Regions from separate parts of the Homo sapiens genome. Here all the other regions are linked to region 2. The links are contacts of gene promoters, found by promoter capture Hi-C in blood cells and fetal thymus (Javierre and others, 2016). All regions are on one chromosome and are shown on one strand. The core of a region is centred on a gene start or on the middle of the fragment in contact, and the rest is flanking DNA. Distances in the headings are between cores, read along the strand shown. Region 1 has its middle 2.3 kb from the start of GOLGB1. Region 2 holds the start of POGLUT1 (protein O-glucosyltransferase 1). Region 3 holds the start of FAM162A (family with sequence similarity 162 member A).

Evidence for each region. The method cuts DNA at HindIII sites, captures the fragments that hold promoters and counts their contacts. A CHiCAGO score of 5 or more calls a contact.
Region 1: a fragment that was not itself captured here is called in contact with the fragment with the promoter of POGLUT1 in region 2 in 1 of 17 cell types (neutrophils); the score reaches 5.1 in neutrophils.
Region 3: a contact is called between the fragment with the promoter of FAM162A here and the fragment with the promoter of POGLUT1 in region 2, in 3 of 17 cell types (non-activated CD4 T cells, activated CD4 T cells and fetal thymus). The highest score is 6.5, in non-activated CD4 T cells.

The regions. Positions count from the first base shown.
Region 1 is chr3:121,750,265-121,753,756 of GRCh38, forward strand. No RefSeq gene overlaps it. Among named protein-coding and RNA genes, the nearest start is that of GOLGB1, 2.3 kb to the left of the region's middle. The HindIII fragment of the contact is 9,962 bases long and covers 1-3,492 here.
Region 2 is chr3:119,467,464-119,470,701 of GRCh38, forward strand. POGLUT1 (protein O-glucosyltransferase 1) reads left to right here and starts at 1,500. Exons shown (of 11, transcript NM_152305.3): 1 at 1,500-1,643; 2 at 2,357-2,447. The coding sequence starts at 1,559. RefSeq lists enhancers at 1,164-1,664, 1,357-1,526 and a silencer at 1,577-1,776. The HindIII fragment of the contact is 3,798 bases long and covers 1-2,124 here.
Region 3 is chr3:122,382,389-122,385,586 of GRCh38, forward strand. FAM162A (family with sequence similarity 162 member A) reads left to right here and starts at 1,794. Exons shown (of 5, transcript NM_014367.4): 1 at 1,794-1,911. The coding sequence starts at 1,878. It overlaps MIX23 (mitochondrial matrix import factor 23), which reads right to left and starts at 843. Exons shown (of 5, transcript NM_001017928.4): 1 at 786-843. The coding sequence starts at 836. RefSeq lists enhancers at 1,605-2,105, 1,929-1,978 and a silencer at 1,689-1,838. The HindIII fragment of the contact is 2,247 bases long and covers 327-2,573 here.

The DNA.
Region 1 (3,492 bases), core at 367-2,866, 2.3 Mb after region 2:
TAATTAACCACAGAAGTAACTTGCCCAAAGTCAAACAGCGACTTAGTGATGGAACTCGGACTAGAACCCGGTGTCAGTATGAAAGAGGATCAGCAATGTCTGTAAGGACATGATTGTGAGAGAGAGAGTAGTGAATACTAGGAAGGTGCCTCTTACAAAGTGGAGCCTAAGCCAGGACCTAAGCAAAGATTGAGAGTTGAGGGCTCAGGCTCTGCAATGAGTGTCAGTGAGGAGCTCCAGCAAAAGACTGAAATCACTCATGCTTTCCTTAAACCCCTAAGGAAAGGGAAGGAAAGTAGCCAGTTTCCAATGAGCTGTCATTTCAGGCACTCTCTTGGCAATAAGAGTAATGTTAGTTTGAATTTATTGAATCTTGCTGTGCACTCAGCTGGCCCATTGTATGTATACTCATCTTAATGATTACATAACTTCACAATTCAAACATCAGCTAAGTAAGGCCTTTCCTGGCTGCCCATCTTACGGAACTGGAGGTCATTATTCTAAGTGAAATAAGTCTGGCACAGAAAGACAAATATCCCATGGTCTCACTCATGTGGGAGCTTAAAAAGTTGATCTCATGGAGTAGAGATAAGTACCAGAGGCTGGGAAGGTGGAGTTGGGGGAGGGAGGGAAGAGATTGGTTAATGGGTACAAACGTAGATAGAAGGAATAAGTTCAAGTGTTTGATAGCACAGTAGGGTGACTATAGTTAACAATATGTTATATATTTCAAAATAACTAGGAGATTAGAAATGTTCCAAACACAAAAATGATAAATGTTTGAGGTGATAGATATCCTAAACACCCTGATTTGATCATTACACATTGTATGCATATATCAAACTACCACACCCCATAAATATGTACAAATATGTATCAATACAAACATAAATAAAATTGCAATTTCCTGCATGCACTATATACTTCTTCTTTGCTTCTTTTTCCCCTAAGCATTTTGCCATCTAAAGTACTATATATTTCATTTATCTGGTATCTCTCTTCTCATTAGATTATAAGCTCCAGGAAGGTAGTAATTTTGATCTCAGCTTTATCTCCAGGTCCCAGAAAAGTATAGAGGAGGGCACTCAATATCTGTTAAATTAATAAAGTATATATGATTATCCTTATCTTAAATGTGAGACAATAAGACTTCAGAAGGTTAAATAATTTGCACAAGGTCACATGGTGAGGGGCAGAGACAGAATTTGAATGCTGCAGTACTTAATGAATACATCATATTCTTATATCCCTGATTGTATCCACCCAGCAAAGTCCTAAACCTGCATCAGTCCAACCATTGGTCTCTACTTCTACCTTTGGGGAGCAAAATGCTGCAGGAGACATCAGGACAATGTCATCAGTGACATCAATGTCCTGACCACTGCACATTCAGTTTCCAGCTGAACTCCATCTTCAGCACACTCCCAAATCCTTCTTGTCTTCAGCTTCCTCTCCTATTTGCCACAATTATTCAAACCTTTAACATCCTCTTTAAGTCCCAACCCCGTGTCTACACTTCACACTCCTAGCAGATGAACTTGCTTCTATCTTAGAGAAAATAGAAGCCATCACTGAGAGTCCTATTGTACTCCCTTACACAAAATTTACCTTTCTACATACTTATTTCCACATTCGACCTTAGAATTTACCTTTCAGTTTTAACAGAATGAAAGTTTCTTATGGGAGACGAGATTAGAATTTTTTCTGTCTAGTAGGTCTTCTTATAGCTCTACCTTCTATTATTGGGTGAGCACAGTATGGTGAGAATTATAGTGAACACTAGGGGTGTGAAGGAAGAAAATGAGGTGGAGAAGTTAAAGAGCAAAACATATTATTTCTAAGTTCACTGAAGGACTGGAAATAATTTAGAATGCAACTTAATGGAAGCAATTTAGGCTCTGAGAGGGTGATCAAGATAATAAAAGATAATTAGGGGTTGCCCCAGCAAAAAAGAGGGTACAGAATAGTGGAGGTAGATGGAGCAGCATGTGCATGGACCATTTGGGCAATTTGACATAAGTGATATGACTGAATGGTTAGGCAAAGAGTAGGTCATAAAATTGTGCCATTTTATGCTAAGGGGTTTGGATATGACTCTAAGCTCCAGAGCAGTTAGAGACTGCAGAAATCACAGAAGTGTGGAGTCATTCAGGTGTCCCTTAGAGAGTGATCATTTCCCTAATTGAAAGTACAGGGAGGAAAAGTTGAAAGACAAGAAATGTCACATTCTCTGTGATTTACTGTTGCCCAATTCCCTCTCCCCTTTTTCAGTTCTTTCCTCATCATCATCTTACCTTCCTCTATACCAAATGCAAACTTATTCCAAAACTTTCATGCAGCCTTATTTATTAATGTATCTTCCATACCTAACGTATCTTCAGCATAGTATATACTCAATAAATATTTGTTAAATAAAATATCCAACATAGAATTCTATATGAATAAATCTTAAAATCTTGGAGAAATAAGAAATTGTCTTGAAAAATATAACTTTGAGACATATCAATTATATGCAAAAATATACAATCACATGATCACATCAACCAATGAAGAAAAATATTTTCACAAGAAGAGGGAAGGTGGGGAAAGAAGAAGAGGGATGGTGGGGAAAGAGGAAGGGAGATGAGGGGGGAAAAAGAAGAAGGAAGGAGAGGAAAGAAAGGGGAAAGGAAGACGGAAGGTGGGGAAAGAAAAAGAGGGATGGTGGGGAAAGGGGAAAGAAGAGGGATGGTAGGGAAAGGGGAAAGAAGAAGAGGGATGGCAGGGGAAGAAGAAGAGGGAAGGTGGGGGAAGAAGAGAGGGAAGGTGGGGATAGGGAAAAGAAGCTGAGGAAAGAAGGTGGGGAAAGAAGAAGAGGGAAGGTGGGGGAAGAAGAAAAATCAACACCCATTCATGATTAAAAAAAAAAACTCAGAAAACTAGGAATCGAAGGATATTTACTCAACTTGATAGAAAAATATTGCAGATTCTTAATGGTGAGAAACTGGATGCTTTCCCTCTAAGATCAGGAACAAGGTAAGGATGTCCCCTGTCACTACTCCTAGGTGACATTATACTAAACCTCCTGCCTAATGTAAGACAATAAAGGGAAATAAAAGATATTCATACTAGCAAGTAATAAATAAAACTGTCTTTGTAGATGGCATGATTTTTTATGTAAAAAATATCTAAGAATAAACAAAAACCTCCTGGAATTAATAAGCAATTTTAACGAGGCTACAGGGTAAAAGGTCAATTGCTTTCCTCAGCAAAGAACAATTGGAATTTGAAATTAAAAACACAATACCATTTACATTAGCCTCAAAAAAAAAAGACGAAATAAATACTTAGGCATAAATCTAACAAAATATGTACAGGCTCTATGTGAAGGAAACTAGCAAACCTCTGATTAAAAAAATTAAAATCTAAATAAATTGAGAAATATTCCATATTCCCAGAAAGCATCAGTATTGTTACGATGTCAATTCTTCCCAACTTTATCTGTAGATTCAA
Region 2 (3,238 bases), core at 250-2,749:
CGGGTGTGGTGGCGCAAGCCTGTAATCCACCTACTCAGGAGGCTGAGGCAGGAGAATTGCTTGAACCCAGGAGGCGGAGGTTGTGGTGAGCCGATATTGAACCATTGCACTCCAGCCTGGGCAACAAGAGCGAAACTCCATCTCAAAAAAAAAAAAAAAAAAGAAAATAGATAAATATTTGTAGTTCTATGATTACTAAATATATCTACACTGACCTATATATACCTGTATAAAGATATATACCTGTACTATACTATATACCTATATTGTCCAGTATCATGTTGCCCACTGTCAAGAAACAAAATTTCATCAAATTTAGTTTAAAGTTCTTGGCCAGGCATGGTGGCTCACGCCTGTAATCCCAGCACTTTGGGAGGCCGAGGTGGGCAGATCACCTGAGGTCAGGAGTTTGAGACCAACCTGGCCAACACGGTGAAACCCTGTCTTTACTAAAAATACAAAAATTACCCGGGCATGGTGACACACTCCTGTAATCCCAGCTACTCGGGAGACTGAGACAGAAGAATTGCTTGAACCCGGGAGGCAGACGTCATAGTGAGCCAAGATTGTGCCACTGCACTCCAGGCTGGGCAACAGAGTTAGACTGTCCTCTGTCTCAAAAAAAAAAAAAAATCGAATTGGCTTTTATTAGTGATTCATGAATCAGGCAGCATCTCATCTATAAAACAGAAAAGTGTTCTAATGAGCTGAGCAGAAGGGGTTGGGCTTATAGGCAGAAAAGGGCTGAAGAAAGCAGAAATAAGGAACAAAAAGCAGATTGGTCATTTTGAAGTTACTTTCCTCAAAGAGTTACATCAGAGGGGACTTCTTTATCATGCCAGCTCAGGTATATGGGCCCCTTCTCCTATTTGTTGGAAAACTGACCCCTTTTAAAGCTGAGTTTAATTACGCAGCACCTAGGACAAGTTGCCTCCATTCTGGTTTTGTCTGCTCTCTTGAGGCCTAGTGCCAGAGTTCTGTCCAAAACAACGACCTCCCATAAACTTTATTTAACACCATTGATCTTTTTTCCTACGTCTAAGTCACCCCAACTGTTATAAATTCCTATTACAAAGGGATCCCTGCTATGCTAATTGCAACCTTTGGGGTCTAACCGTGCTGTACACACACACACACACACACACACACACACACACACATGCTCAACAAATTTATGCTATTTGATAAGAGGCAATTTGACGTCAAGAGAAGAACTGTTTGGCCTAGGCTCTATGCCAAGTCTTGGTTGTGCCACTAACCGTGAAACATACCCTCTCTGACCTTCAGTTTTCTGGCTGCAGACCTATTTTCCCAGGGGTGCCAGGGAGGGAGGATAGGCAACTGGTCCATTCGTTTATCCTCCCCACCTTCCCGGCGCAGCCTTCTCAGGGAAACTCCGCCTCAAGGCTGGGGACTGGAGGAAGGGTGGTGGGGCCACGGTGGCCATCTTTGTGCGGGGCGACCCGCCGCCCACGTGCTGCGGCTCCCGGGCCATCTTTGTGCGGGGCCGCGCTTCCGCCAGCGCCGCAGCGGGGAATCTGCAGTAGGTCTGCCGGCGATGGAGTGGTGGGCTAGCTCGCCGCTTCGGCTCTGGCTGCTGTTGTTCCTCCTGCCCTCAGCGCAGGGCCGCCAGAAGGAGTCAGGTGGGCTCCGGGCAGTGCCGAGCCTGCCCCTTGGGCTCGGGGTCTGGCCGGAGTCCCGAGGCGCTCCCCCGCGCGGCCGGCTCCCGGGAAGATGCCGTGGCCGCTGTAGCTCGGAGCTGGGCAGAAGGCACCGGGGCGCCTTGCGGCGGAGAGTGAGGTGCCGGGGTCTCTGCTCCTGCTCTGGACCCTGGAGAGTAACCCATTCCCCGGAATTCAGAATGACAGGGAGGAGAGGGAATTCCCCGTTCACCCGCAGGAGGCGTGGCCCGTGCTTGGCTACTCTGGACCTGCCTGAAACACTGAGGGGTCGGGGATGGGGGCAAATGTCGTGCGCGCGAGCGTGTGTGTATATGCGTTGCCAGAAGAGAAGAGGGGTTTAATGTCTGTAGCTTTTAACTGATCCTCTTTGTGGAGTTCAATTTGATTAGTAGAAAGTGAGAGTCCGCGTCACTATCCATAGCATTCTGAGGGTTGAGCATTAAGCTTGGGAATTTTCCAGTTTCTTGGACACCTGACAGCCGGATAGAGGAACAGACTTGACGTGAGCGTGGGAGTTGCACACACAAAAATTCCTCCCTAGCGTTTCGTTTCCATCAGTGGGATGGGAAGGGGATTTCTGAAAGTTTTGGTCTTCTGTTTCTTCTGTTGGTGTGGTGTCAGCAAATAACATTCAGGAAAATTTTTTTAACTCTCATTTACTTCACTTTTTAAAGGTTCAAAATGGAAAGTATTTATTGACCAAATTAACAGGTCTTTGGAGAATTACGAACCATGTTCAAGTCAAAACTGCAGCTGCTACCATGGGTGAGTTCTTTTCTTTGATGTGTCTTTGAGAGTTTAGTTGCTGTCACAGGAAGTATTCTAACATCCTTGAGAGATTTTGGTTGCAGTGGTCAGAAAGGCAAGGATGTTTTTCTATTTCTGGGGAATAAAAATGCTCTCGCATGGGAAAGGCTCAGGTGGTGTCAACCTAACCACTGACTCACTGCGGGATTCAGTGCATGTGCATCTGTTTTTCCCACTGGGCTGCAAGCTTCCTGAGGTCAGGGTCTGTGTCTTATTTGCTGTTGTCTCCCTGGTGCTAGCTGTCAGTGCGTGCTCGATAAATATTGTTGAGGAAATAAACCCATCTATCGCTGAATCTAGTCCTAAATTTCCTGATGGTTATCTTTAGAAAATGCACATCAGGCTGGGCATGGTGGTTCATGCCTGTAATCCCAGCACTTTGAGAGGCCAAGGCAGGTGGATCACCTGAGGTCAGAATTTCGAGACCAGCCTGGCCAACATGGTGAAACCCTGTCTCTACTAAAAATACAAAAATTAGCTGGGCATGATGGCACGTGCCTGTAATCCCAGCTACTCGGGAGGCTGAGGCAGGAGAATCGCTTGAACCCGGGAAGCAGAGGTTGCATTGAATCCAGATCATGCCACTGCACCCCAGCCTGGGTGACAGAGTGAGACTCCGTCTCAAAAAAGAGAGAGAATGCACATCAGGGCCGGGATGAGGTATGGTAGAAAGATAACTCTGAAAACAGACTTGGGTGTTGGTGCCGGTACTCCCACTGGTTACCCCTGTGCCGAGCCACTTCAACTCC
Region 3 (3,198 bases), core at 544-3,043, 2.9 Mb after region 2:
ACCTTCAAACCGTTCAAAGTACAAAGCTTACTACAGATAGGTCAATTTTTCAGTATCTTGGGTTAGTTAATAATGCAATACATATTTAAGATCATGATTTTGGAATTCAACTTTGTAACTAAACAGAAGCACATTTATGACTGAATTGGAACAGATAACTTTAATGGCAACTTGGTCAAAACCAGATCCCTATTCTTGCATTCAGGTGTTAATAATTAGCCCTAGGTCTCTGATATTTGAACATAAAAAGGCAAAACCTCTAAATATTACATCTTCTCTAATGGGCAATGACACTAGAGCAGGTACTATAATTAATCCTCCCTCCAAGCTTCCATACGTCCTGTCCCACAAAAATAGTAAATTGCACCAAGTATGTTTTATCAACTAAATAGCTCTTCTGCACCTTCTTCTCTCCCACAAAAACTCTACTTACAAAAGTAGGAGAGGAATGGCAGAAGCTGGAAACTGAGTTCAGGGAACTGCTACAAGATTGTTACAATCCTTATCCACGCATCCCGAGCTTTACCACAGCAGATTACCCAGAGCTTCCCAGACAAGGCCGGAGAGCCGCGGAGAGAACTATGACCCCCCTCCTCCCTCCTCCTACAGAGCAGCCTCGCTCCCTAAGGCCAAACCCGCGCCCCCCATGACCTCCAATGGCTCGAGAAAAGAGCTTTGAATTGCCCGCTTTTTCCAAAGCTGGTTCATACTCCCTCGCAAAGCAGGGAATAGGGTCTGGGGACAAAAGGAGGCACATGCCTGCCACATGAGGAAAACCCCATCACCTGGAACTCGGCGAACTCCTCACAGTTCACACCGCCACTGGGCGCCGCCATATTGGACAAACACGAGGACCCCGCTGCAGGCCAATCACCGCGGAGCAAAGGTGACCGCGGAGTCGCCTGACAAAAAATATAGTACGAGGGGAATCCTTAGGAAAGCTGAGTGCAAGGCTTGAGTTCAACGTGGTCCGCATCCACCTCGGAACCTGTCACCCTGCTGTCCCAACCCTTTTAACATGTCCTCCTGGAACTGGGCCAGATACATGGATCAAAGATTGTCAGACCTTGAAGGGACTGTTTACTCCAATCCCATCTTTTCACAAAAGGGAAACAATTTCCTTGTGGTTCCCCTACCAGGTCGTTGAAGGAAATCTAGGCAAGTGAGGCCTTTCTAATACCTCTCACTCCAGTGCCTAACCTCCTCCCCGGACCCTGGAGCAGGGGGGTCTTTGTTAAGAATTTGGGACCACTAAGAAACGTCAAGAAAAAACGGCATTTCTGGCAGTGTGGGTGGGTATGAGTAAAGTGTTTAGGATGGAGATGATCAAATGTTTTTAGAAAATAGGTAAATAGAAAACAAATTGAAAACATACATGTTAATTTCTCAGATTAGCCTGAGGGATGCTCCAACAAGAGATAGGGCCACTGAGCAGAGTCCAATTATGTGTTTTCTGATAAAAGCATATGTTCATTGAAAACACTGGAAGAGCGGCATACTGGAATACTGGTTTATCTGGTGTATTTCGGGAGTTTACAGATCACGAAAGTTGCACATTTCCTTTCTATTTCACACAGGTACTCCCATGGGTACATATCCGCTAGGGCAAGGGCCCACGGCGCCACACTCCACAGGACCATCTCCGAGGCTGGCTCAGGATGCGGCGCCAGGGGCACTAGGCTGGCGCCGCGGGTCTCCAGCGCGTGGCGCACGTCCTACACGCCCCGCACTGGCGCAGGCCTGTACACCGCGTCGCGCACGCCCCGCCCCCCGGCGCCGCCTGCGTCCTTCCCACTCCAACGCTGGGTGACATTGAGCTCACCAGCGCCACCGTCCCCGGCGAAGTTCTGCGCTGGTCGGCGGAGTAGCAAGTGGCCATGGGGAGCCTCAGCGGTCTGCGCCTGGCAGCAGGTGAGACGCCGGTCGGGATATGGGAGGTAGGGGAGCTGGCCCGGCCGCTGCGGGTGGGGGAATCCTGAAGCCTTCCTGGGCCCCGGAGTGGCTCCATTCCATGACGCACTTTCTCGGTTCCTCAGAATCCTACCTACTTAGTAGCCATGTGGGAGGGAACTAGGTGAGCAGCTGCTGATAGGCATTGGAGACTGCCCGTGAATTACCCTCATCTCCATCCACCCAGCTCCCACCAACTTAACTGCCCACGCGCCTACCCTTCTCCCCACCCCCGTCCTCAGCCTCCCCTGAGCTCAGTCTGTAAAGCACCTACTATCCCTAGACCTCCCCTTTACCCATGCATTCAGCTTTCCACCCTAACCTCCCCTATCTATTGCTCTCCTTGAGTCTTCCCTCTTCCCCCTGCTCCTTCCTCTCTGGAGTTTATCCCAGAAAACCTCCAGTCTGAAGTTTCCCCACTCATTAAATGTCTGATTAGGCCAAGGATTTAGGTCTTAGAGATTAATAATAATTGTTTTCTTAAAATGGAGGATACATTACTTTTAAACACTTATACAATTAATTGATTCGAATTTCTTGGAGGAAGTGTGTAATTGAAGGATCTGCAGTTTGTTTTGGTGGTAGACATTTGTGTGATGACTATTTTGGACTTAGGTAATGAAAGCTTAATTCTTTTTTTTTGGGAGAACCAGCAGAGCCTTGGCATAGTAGGGGTTGAGAAATCAGAGGGCTTGCATTTTGACTCTTTTCTGGGTACCAGAGATCTTTTGTTCAATGGCACACACTACATTATTAAAAAGTTGTTAATTAAATTTTTAAAGGAAAAATAGCCCCAAACTTGGCTATTCAAATAATATAAATATATATTGTAATGTAAATGAAGTAATGCAAAAAAAAAGAGTGAATGTTGCATAGTTTCACAAGTTTGATACATAACCTTCCCCACCTCAAGATTATCCTTTACACAGCTTATCTAGTGTTCCGGTAGAGAATGGACTGGAAAACATGTCTCAAACTAGAGAGTATTATTATATTTACTTCCTTTAAAAGCAAACACTTCTTCCACTAAAATCCTCAATACTATGATTTCATTGATTTTGTCAGTTTTGTTGAACTAATTCACCTAAAATATCTTCTGTACATCCTATTAACATTATGAAGCTTTTCAACAAGGCAAGTGAAAGGATCATTGCTCTGTAAAAAAGTTAAAATGGACTGCATGAAAAGAACTTTGACATCTTGGAACTACTTTGACATCTTTGAACTAATACTGAGTATATTGTAAGT